Linked DNA regions of Homo sapiens: region 2 is linked to region 1. The links are contacts of gene promoters, found by promoter capture Hi-C in blood cells and fetal thymus (Javierre and others, 2016). All regions are on one chromosome and are shown on one strand. Each heading gives the region's core, a stretch centred on a gene start or on the middle of the fragment in contact. The rest is flanking DNA. Distances are from core to core; before and after follow the strand shown.

What was found. Contacts are between HindIII fragments. The CHiCAGO score rates a contact against its expected background, and 5 or more counts as called.
Region 2: a fragment that was not itself captured here is called in contact with the fragment with the promoter of FOS in region 1 in 3 of 17 cell types (activated CD4 T cells, total CD8 T cells and total CD4 T cells); the score reaches 9.2 in activated CD4 T cells.

The regions. Positions count from the first base shown.
Region 1 is chr14:75,275,751-75,280,873 of GRCh38, forward strand. It overlaps FOS (Fos proto-oncogene, AP-1 transcription factor subunit), which reads left to right and starts at 3,078. Exons shown (of 4, transcript NM_005252.4): 1 at 3,078-3,373; 2 at 4,127-4,378; 3 at 4,810-4,917; 4 at 5,033-5,123. The coding sequence starts at 3,233. RefSeq lists silencers at 1,242-1,751, 2,480-2,569, 2,920-2,979 and enhancers at 3,068-3,995, 3,350-3,409, 3,996-4,921, 4,948-5,123. The HindIII fragment of the contact is 6,704 bases long and covers 897-5,123 here.
Region 2 is chr14:75,534,341-75,539,622 of GRCh38, forward strand. The region is part of intron 2 of BATF (basic leucine zipper ATF-like transcription factor); the gene reads left to right. Among named protein-coding and RNA genes, the nearest start is that of BATF, 15 kb to the left of the region's middle. RefSeq lists a silencer at 4,300-4,514 and enhancers at 4,745-4,794, 4,865-4,924, 5,215-5,264. The HindIII fragment of the contact is 5,692 bases long and covers 1-5,282 here.

The DNA.
Region 1 (5,123 bases), core at 1,828-4,327:
GTATTGCAGTCACCTCCTCTGGGACCTGTTTCCAAGCCTTCTTCTGTGTTGCCTGGCACCCCTTTCTTACCTCTTTCAAACCACTTACTGCTACCCTGTAAGCTCGATTGACTTGTTGGTCTTCCTATGAGACTGGAATCTCTCTGAGGGTCGGGACAGGCCTACCCTCTTCATTACAGTGAGCACCAGCCTCCAGCCCAGTCAATAGTTTTGTTAAATAAATAATTGAACAAAATTATTTGTTAAATAATGGTTTGTCCTTTCCAGAGGATGGACTTAGTTTGTCCTTTCCAGAGGATGGATTTAGTAAGTCTCCAACTCTGGTCATAATGGTGCCAGAAGGAAAGAGTTAAGCTATCTGGAGGAAATAGGCTCACTCAAAGACCCTTCTTCTTTTTTTTTTTTTTAATTGGCAAAGGCAGGATAAGTGTATTTGAGATAAATCCTGGATATAAAATCTTGACACATCTTTTAGGTATTGGCCGAGATGCTTTGGACCTGAAAGGGAAGTAAATCAAATCATTCTAGGTTTTCTTTTCTTTTCTTTTGGAGACAGAATCTTGCTCTGTTGCCCAGGCTGGAGTGCGGTGGCACGATCTCGGCTCACAGGAACCTCTGCCTCCCGGGTTCAAGCAATTCTCCTGCCTCAGCCTCCTGAGTAGCTGGGACTACAGGCGTGCGCCACCACACCCGGCTGTTTTGTATTTTTAGCAGGGACAGAGTTTCACCATGATGGCCAAGCTGGTCTCGAACTCCTGGCCTCAAGTGATCCACCCGCCTCGGGCTCCCAAAGTGCAGGAATTACAGGAGTGAGCCACCGCACCCAGTCAGGTTTCCTGTTAAGTGGCCTGAGATCTAGTTGTGAATGGCAGTCATGGCCAGACTCAGGAATTCAAAGCTTGACCTATTTTGTCTGAAGCTAATATTAATAATAAGAGAGATGTATTTGGCTTCATAACCCCTTTCCCTCCCGTCCCCCTCTTTCTTTCTGTAATCAAGGATAGAATTAGAAGTACCGAAGGCCGCAGAATTGCTTTAGGATTCAGAGCAGCTCCAAGGAATCTGTGTTTACGTATTATGTGTGTTTTTCCGTTTCCCTCCCTTTTTATGAGTGAGAAAAAAAAGCGCCTAAATTCCCACCAACATAAACCAATGACATACAATGATGAAATTCTGTTTTCACCTCTGCCTGTGACAGGGAATGCAAAAATAGCAAGTGGCCCAGTTCCACGAATCCCCGCCTCCTGCCCTCCCCGCTCCTGCCGGGTTGGATCTCTAAGAATGGAGGTTAGCGCACAGCCTCGCGCGGGCCGCTCAGCCCCCGGACCCGGCGGATGATGTCAGGCGACGGGAGCGGCCGCGGCCGGGCCGGGGAGGCCGCGGCCCAGGGGAGCTGGGAGGGAGGGTGGCCTCGCCAGGCCGACGGCGCGCCCGGCCGCGCGGCGTTGCCTGGAGACGGCCCTGGCGGCGCTGTGTTGCTGTAAACAGCCGCTTCCCTGTTACTATCTATAGCAGGATCTCCTGGCTCCCGGGCGCGGCGGCTGGAGGCAGGTCTGCGGTCCGGCTCCCCGCGCGCCCCGAACTATCCGCCCGCCGGCCTCATCCTGCCTCGCCCCTCTCCAGGTGCCCACCGCGGGCCCCGACCCCCGGGCCCGAAGAGTGGAGAAGGGAAGACCGGGGCTGTGCGGGGACATGCGTCTTCGCGCCCTGGAGGTGGCCAGCGCGCTGGGGCTGAGCCCCGGCAGCGTGACCCCGGCTGTCCTACGCAGCAGGGCAGGAGATTGGGGGGCGTGGCACACTCTGGAGCACCTTGCCTCCCCAAAGCCCCGTGTTCCAGGACGTGGAGCCGCTCCTGGGGTCCCAGCAGTCGAGGTATTCCGCCCAGGCGCAGCTGGACACTGTCCTTCCAGCCCCCGTCCTCCACCCTCCAAGTCCGCGCTGGAAAATCACCCGCTGCGGGCTCCCGTAAGCACAGCTTCCTGGCGGGACCGAACCAGCCCTCAGCGCAGATTTGAGTTCCCCGCAGGAAGCACACCCCGCCTTGTCATCCCGAACTGACCACCCTGCCCACATAACCACACCTCGCACTCCCTACCCCTGGGGCCCAGCTCAGAACCGGGCAGACACCCCCTTCAAATGTCTTCGCACGTAGGTTTTGCACAGTGTTTATCTGCTGGTGTCTCAGGGATTTGACAGTTTCCTTAATATTCCCACACATGGCCGAGAAAAATAAATAAATAAATGCGCTGTCTTCTTTAAAAAAATAAATAAATAAAGTACCCAGTATCGTAAAGTAGGTTATCGTATTCTCTTATTTTGGATCCTCCACTTTCTGCTTCCAAACGCAGGAACAGTGCTAGTATTGCTCGAGCCCGAGGGCTGGAGGTTAGGGGATGAAGGTCTGCTTCCACGCTTTGCACTGAATTAGGGCTAGAATTGGGGATGGGGGTAGGGGCGCATTCCTTCGGGAGCCGAGGCTTAAGTCCTCGGGGTCCTGTACTCGATGCCGTTTCTCCTATCTCTGAGCCTCAGAACTGTCTTCAGTTTCCGTACAAGGGTAAAAAGGCGCTCTCTGCCCCATCCCCCCCGACCTCGGGAACAAGGGTCCGCATTGAACCAGGTGCGAATGTTCTCTCTCATTCTGCGCCGTTCCCGCCTCCCCTCCCCCAGCCGCGGCCCCCGCCTCCCCCCGCACTGCACCCTCGGTGTTGGCTGCAGCCCGCGAGCAGTTCCCGTCAATCCCTCCCCCCTTACACAGGATGTCCATATTAGGACATCTGCGTCAGCAGGTTTCCACGGCCTTTCCCTGTAGCCCTGGGGGGAGCCATCCCCGAAACCCCTCATCTTGGGGGGCCCACGAGACCTCTGAGACAGGAACTGCGAAATGCTCACGAGATTAGGACACGCGCCAAGGCGGGGGCAGGGAGCTGCGAGCGCTGGGGACGCAGCCGGGCGGCCGCAGAAGCGCCCAGGCCCGCGCGCCACCCCTCTGGCGCCACCGTGGTTGAGCCCGTGACGTTTACACTCATTCATAAAACGCTTGTTATAAAAGCAGTGGCTGCGGCGCCTCGTACTCCAACCGCATCTGCAGCGAGCATCTGAGAAGCCAAGACTGAGCCGGCGGCCGCGGCGCAGCGAACGAGCAGTGACCGTGCTCCTACCCAGCTCTGCTCCACAGCGCCCACCTGTCTCCGCCCCTCGGCCCCTCGCCCGGCTTTGCCTAACCGCCACGATGATGTTCTCGGGCTTCAACGCAGACTACGAGGCGTCATCCTCCCGCTGCAGCAGCGCGTCCCCGGCCGGGGATAGCCTCTCTTACTACCACTCACCCGCAGACTCCTTCTCCAGCATGGGCTCGCCTGTCAACGCGCAGGTAAGGCTGGCTTCCCGTCGCCGCGGGGCCGGGGGCTTGGGGTCGCGGAGGAGGAGACACCGGGCGGGACGCTCCAGTAGATGAGTAGGGGGCTCCCTTGTGCCTGGAGGGAGGCTGCCGTGGCCGGAGCGGTGCCGGCTCGGGGGCTCGGGACTTGCTCTGAGCGCACGCACGCTTGCCATAGTAAGAATTGGTTCCCCCTTCGGGAGGCAGGTTCGTTCTGAGCAACCTCTGGTCTGCACTCCAGGACGGATCTCTGACATTAGCTGGAGCAGACGTGTCCCAAGCACAAACTCGCTAACTAGAGCCTGGCTTCTCCGGGGAGGTGGCAGAAAGCGGCAATCCCCCCTCCCCCGGCAGCCTGGAGCACGGAGGAGGGATGAGGGAGGAGGGTGCAGCGGGCGGGTGTGTAAGGCAGTTTCATTGATAAAAAGCGAGTTCATTCTGGAGACTCCGGAGCGGCGCCTGCGTCAGCGCAGACGTCAGGGATATTTATAACAAACCCCCTTTCAAGCAAGTGATGCTGAAGGGATAACGGGAACGCAGCGGCAGGATGGAAGAGACAGGCACTGCGCTGCGGAATGCCTGGGAGGAAAAGGGGGAGACCTTTCATCCAGGATGAGGGACATTTAAGATGAAATGTCCGTGGCAGGATCGTTTCTCTTCACTGCTGCATGCGGCACTGGGAACTCGCCCCACCTGTGTCCGGAACCTGCTCGCTCACGTCGGCTTTCCCCTTCTGTTTTGTTCTAGGACTTCTGCACGGACCTGGCCGTCTCCAGTGCCAACTTCATTCCCACGGTCACTGCCATCTCGACCAGTCCGGACCTGCAGTGGCTGGTGCAGCCCGCCCTCGTCTCCTCCGTGGCCCCATCGCAGACCAGAGCCCCTCACCCTTTCGGAGTCCCCGCCCCCTCCGCTGGGGCTTACTCCAGGGCTGGCGTTGTGAAGACCATGACAGGAGGCCGAGCGCAGAGCATTGGCAGGAGGGGCAAGGTGGAACAGGTGAGGAACTCTAGCGTACTCTTCCTGGGAATGTGGGGGCTGGGTGGGAAGCAGCCCCGGAGATGCAGGAGCCCAGTACAGAGGATGAAGCCACTGATGGGGCTGGCTGCACATCCGTAACTGGGAGCCCTGGCTCCAAGCCCATTCCATCCCAACTCAGACTCTGAGTCTCACCCTAAGAAGTACTCTCATAGTTTCTTCCCTAAGTTTCTTACCGCATGCTTTCAGACTGGGCTCTTCTTTGTTCTCTTGCTGAGGATCTTATTTTAAATGCAAGTCACACCTAGTCTGCAACTGCAGGTCAGAAATGGTTTCACAGTGGGGTGCCAGGAAGCAGGGAAGCTGCAGGAGCCAGTTCTACTGGGGTGGGTGAATGGAGGTGATGGCAGACACTTTTACTGAATGTCGGTCTTTTTTTGTGATTATTCTAGTTATCTCCAGAAGAAGAAGAGAAAAGGAGAATCCGAAGGGAAAGGAATAAGATGGCTGCAGCCAAATGCCGCAACCGGAGGAGGGAGCTGACTGATACACTCCAAGCGGTAGGTACTCTGTGGGTTGCTCCTTTTTAAAACTTAAGGGGAAAGTTGGAGATTGAGCATAAGGGCCCTTGAGTAAGACTGTGTCTTATGCTTTCCTTTATCCCTCTGTATACAGGAGACAGACCAACTAGAAGATGAGAAGTCTGCTTTGCAGACCGAGATTGCCAACCTGCTGAAGGAGAAGGAAAAACTAGAGTTCATCCTGG
Region 2 (5,282 bases), core at 1,543-4,042, 260 kb after region 1:
ATTATGAAAACGATACACACTAAGGCAGGGTTTCTCAACCCCAGTGGAACTGATACTTCGAGTCCGATAATTCTTTGTTGTTGGGGATTGTCCTGTGCCTTGTAAAATGTAAAATTTACCCACAAGATGCCAGTAGAACACCCCCTCACCCTGCTTAGTTTGATAACCAAAAATATTTCCAGAACTTGCTAAATGTCCCTGGAAAGGCAAAATCAGTCCTAGTTGAGAACGCTACACTAAGGAGAAAGACACATGGAAAGTTGTTCTTTCTCCTTAATACTTGACAACCTGTAACATTAACATGAAATTAAGAAGCCTTCATCAAGCTAATTGGCAACAAGTAAATTATTTAAAATTATAACACCTAAATGCCAGTGAGGTTGTAGTGAAATGGATAGAAGCATTCGCTAGTGGTGACATTATATACTTGATATGACCCCTTTTCAGTAATACTTCTCAGGACTGGGAAGATTGAATGCCTCCTTTGCCTCATTCATTTCATTCCTAGGAATTTCTCCAAGGAAATCACTGAACAGAGACAAAACCCAGTGTGCATCACGATGTTCATCTCAGCATTATTTTTAATAGTGACAATTTGATAGCAACCAAGATGTCCAGCATTAGAAGACCACTTTAAGTAAATTGTGGATAATCAATTTGATGATGCAGTCATTAAAAATTATGTTGACTATGTAGATGTGACAAAGTTATGACAGAAAGCAAAATACAAATTGTATGTGTACTATGATTGAAATTTTGTAAAAATAAGTATGCATGTTTGTTCAAAAGGATGAGATGGCCAAGTGGGATGGTTCATGCCTGTAATCCCAATACATACGGAGGCCAAGGCAGGAGGATGACTTGAGACCAAGCTGGGCAACAGAGTGAGATCCTGTCTCTACAAAATATAAAAATAAAAATAAAAATAATTAGCCAGGCGTGGTAGCTTGCACCCAGCTACTTTAGAGGCTGAGGTGGGAAGATCACTTGAGCCCAGGAGGTTGAGGCTGCAGTGAGCCCTGATTACATCACTGCACTCTGGACTGGGTAATAGAGTGAGACCCTGTGTCAACAAAAAGGATGAGATCTCAATATGTGTAAATGAAAACAGCTGTATTAAGGGACTAGGATCATGGGCGTTTTTAACTTTTAAAAAATATCTTTAATGTAGTTATACTGTATTTTTTTATTTTTAAAGAAACAGAAGAAAATGGCCAAATAGAGAGCTGAAGGAACTCTGGAGGACATCAAGTACAAAGAGACAATATTACTGAGCTCGAATTTGGGGATCAGGTTTTGGTAGGAGACCTTATAATTTATACCCCAAATAGGAATACTTCGAGAGTGGAAGATGGAACTTGTAAATATTACACCAGGAAAACAGGTGTCCCAGTAAATGTCTGGTCACCCTAGACAGGGAAACCAAGAAAGATGACATGAAGCTCTTATGAAAACTCAGAAGTGATAAAGTTCAGAGTCAAGTAGAGGGGACTGGATTCCTATGACCAAAATGTGATTTCCTGCAACTGAGGACCCTGTAACTAAAAAAGGGTACTCAGCTGGCATAAGAATATGTCTTATCATTAAGAGAGTAGGATGACACAGAAAATTATAAAGCAAAGGCCATATTATCAGTACTAGAGCTGAGATCAGCGGAAGTGATTCATCTACTCAACAAATATTTATCAGCCAGGAACAGTTCGTTCTAGGCACTGAGAATATTGCAGGGACAGGACAGACAGAGTCTCTGATTTCACGAACCTTACAGTCAGTTGGAAGTCAGGCTGGAAAACAAATAAACACACTAATCACATGACATGTAAAGTGCTTCAAAGAAGATGAAATCATGCAATGTGGAAAGTGTCTAAGGGACGGGATTGGGGCAGCGATCAGGGGAGGCCTTCCTGAGGCCCTGGAATTTGAGATCAAAGGTGAATCAAAGAGGAGACTGGAAAGATCTGGGGAGAGGGTGATCTCAGCCTAGAGAGCCTTGAGGCCAAGCTGCGAGGCCAGGCAAAGGTCAGAAAGGTGCTTGGTAAGGTGGAGACCAAGTTCAAGACCATAAGGGAGTGAGGAGGAACTCAGTAATAATGGCAATTGTAGGGCTGAGCACAGTGGCTCACACCTGTAATCCCAGCACTTTGGGAGGCCGAGTTGGTTGGATCATTTGAGGCCAGGAGTTCGAGACCAGCCTGAGCAACACAGTGAAACCCCATCTCTACAAAAAAAAATTTTTTTTAAATATCCAGGCATGCACCTATGGTCCCACCTACTTGGGAGGCTGAGGCGGGAGATTTGCTTAAGTCCAAGAGGTCGAGGTTGCAGTGAGTTGTGATAGCACCACTGCACTCCAGCCTGGGCAACAGGGCAAGATCCTGTCTTTAAAATAAAATAAAATAAAATAAAATAAAATAAAATAAAGGCAATTGTGCTGCTAGGAGCAGGAACTGGATGGGGCATGTGGTGGGGACCCAACTAATTCAAACCCTGCCTGGGGGATTTCTCTGAACCTAAACTCTGATCATAAGTTGAGAAGCAATAGCACCTCACTAGGCTGTTTGACCGTTTAATTGAGAGGGCAAATGTAAGAACAAAGCAATATTGTCATTTTTTTTTTACACTGTTCCTTTGTTTAATGCAGACAGCCTGCCCTTTTCCTAGAAATCAATCAGATATATTATCCTACATGAACACACACGTTCTTCTTTCTGGTTGCTTATAAACTCTTTAAGGATATCAGTAGTTTCAGGGGCTTGGCCTTTCACAACTAGGCAAGTCTCCTTTGTTGGGTATGAATGGAGAGAGGGTCAAATTTGAACTAGGGAAATGGCACGACGAAGTTCTTAAAGTGGTTGTAATTCTGCCACTCCCACGCTGTTGGTTCAGTTTGGGGAATAAACAGAGGTTTGACCTAGGCCTTTTGAAAAAATGAATCTCTTGGATTCATTTGGAAGTATCCCAGATTTACAAAGTAGAAGCTATTAAAGTGTTTGAGTGGTGGTTAATCACTCTCTAGGAATTCTCATGGACATCACAGATTTACTCAGCTGACCCTTCTTCATAGGCACATCTCAGATTTTGGAAAATTATTCCAGATTATAAGTTGGCAGTCAAGCAACGTGATTTGATCGAACACTTACTCTATGGCAGGCACTGTCCTTGTCACTGAGAACAAAACAGTGAAGACAATAATAGCTCCTGCCCTCACAGAGCTCAACAATGTAAATGGTAAGGAAACGAAACGGTTAAAGTTATAATTAATGAAACACGAATAGATCCCTGAGCTCTTGCCTTTCCATTATATGAATGAACTGTGCTGGACTATTTAGAATTGTTTCCACCAATTTAAGAATATAATAGTAGTGTGCTTAAATGGACATTTTGTTTTAGAAATTTTTTTAACTAGAAATAGTCTCCCAACTCTTTAAATTTTTTAATATTATACTATAAATGATAAAATAAAATACATATTTAATAAAATGAAAATATGTAAAAATATAAACTCTTTAAGGATATCAGTAGTTTCAGGGGCTTGGCCTTTCACAACTGGGCAAGTCTCACAAATTTAATTTGTTTGTTAACAAACAAATTTAATAAAATCAAACACTATATAGTTATGTTATATTTTTATTATTTTGAGATAAGGTTTCACTCTTTTCCCAGGCTGGAGTGCAGTGGTGCGATCATGGCTGACTGCAGCCTCCACCTCCCAGGCACAAATGATCCTCCCACCTTGGCCTCCCAAATAGCTGGGACTACAGGTGTGTGCCACTATGCCTGGTTAACTTTTAAATTTTTTGTAAAGATTGGGTATCACTATGTTGCCCAGGCTGGTCTCAAACTTCCGGGCTCAAATGACCCTCCTGCCAAAGAAGCCTCCCAAAGTGCTAGGATTACAGCAACTGCACCTGGCCTTATGTTATTATTAAAAGGAATCCACTATGAACATGATTTTTTGCCCATTTGGCTCACTTAGGAAGCATTTTTAAAGTCTTGATGCCTGCAACCACTCCAGAACAATTAAATTGGAACCTCTGGGGGTCTGGCATCCAGGAATCCAGACTGTTTAAGGCTCTCCGGGTGCTGGCAGTGTGCACAGCCAGGGTTGAGAATCAGAAGCAGTACATTTGCAGCCTATCAGGTCTGTACCTGAATATGTGGAGTGAGTAGAATGTGTGGAGTGAGCAGAATGTGTGGAGTGAGTGTGGGGCAATTGTGTGGGTAAGTACACAGATACTCTGTCACATACAGTGGCCTGATGGCTTAAAACAAAACAAACGGCCAGGTGCGGTGGCTCACGCCTGTAATCCCAACACTTTGGGAGCCCGAGGCGGGTGGATCACGAGGTCAGGAGATCGAGACCATCCTGGCTAACACGGTGAAACCATGTCTCTACTAAAAATACAAAAAATTAGCCGGGCATGGTGGCGGGTGCCCGTAGTCCCAGCTACTAGGGAGGCTGAGGCAGGAGAATGGCATGAACCCGGGAGGCGGAGCTTGCAATGAGCCGAGATCGTGCCACTGCACTCCAGCCTGGGCGACAGAGCGAGACACGGTCTCAAAAAACAAACAAACAAACAAACAAACTATTCAAACCCTTGCTTTGATGGCAGTTATTATTTGTTTTGTTGTTTGGTTTTGAACATTGATAATCTTGCTAGTGGTAACCTTTGTAACTCGAAGCATCAGTATCAGCCAAGATTGCATGCATTCAGAGACAAGTGAGAGACCAGCCATCAAATGAGGAATCAACAAATCATGGCCTACTTTTCTCATGTAACAAGAAGTTCAAAAGTGGAGAGACCAGGCTACAGCAAGGAAGAACCAAGCTCCTTCTCTCTAAGCAGCCATCCTCAGTATGAGGCTTTCATTCTCTAGGCTGTGAGATGGGTGCCGAGCCTCTCGGCATCAGTCTATGTTGAAGGAAGGAAGCCTTTGTCCTTATGAGCAGGCTGTGCCTTTTTGGTAGGAAGGGAAGCTCTGCCTTCACCTCCCTCCCGCCCATCAGGTACTTCTGCTTACGTATCTTTGGTCAGAATTCTGTCACATGGCTACCCCTAGCTACAAGGTAAGGTAAGCTGGAATTTTTTTTTTTTTTTTTTTTTTTTTTTAGCAATTCTTTTCCCAGTCTTTCTAGAGGAAGGCAAGGCAGAAGGGGTTTGGGATGGACGCTGAATGAACCAAACTATAGTTTTTTTCACATTTGAGGGCAATGAAATCATAGTCTTGAAAACCAAGGACCAGGCGATAGCCTTTTCACCCTGTGACTAGACAGGTCCCTG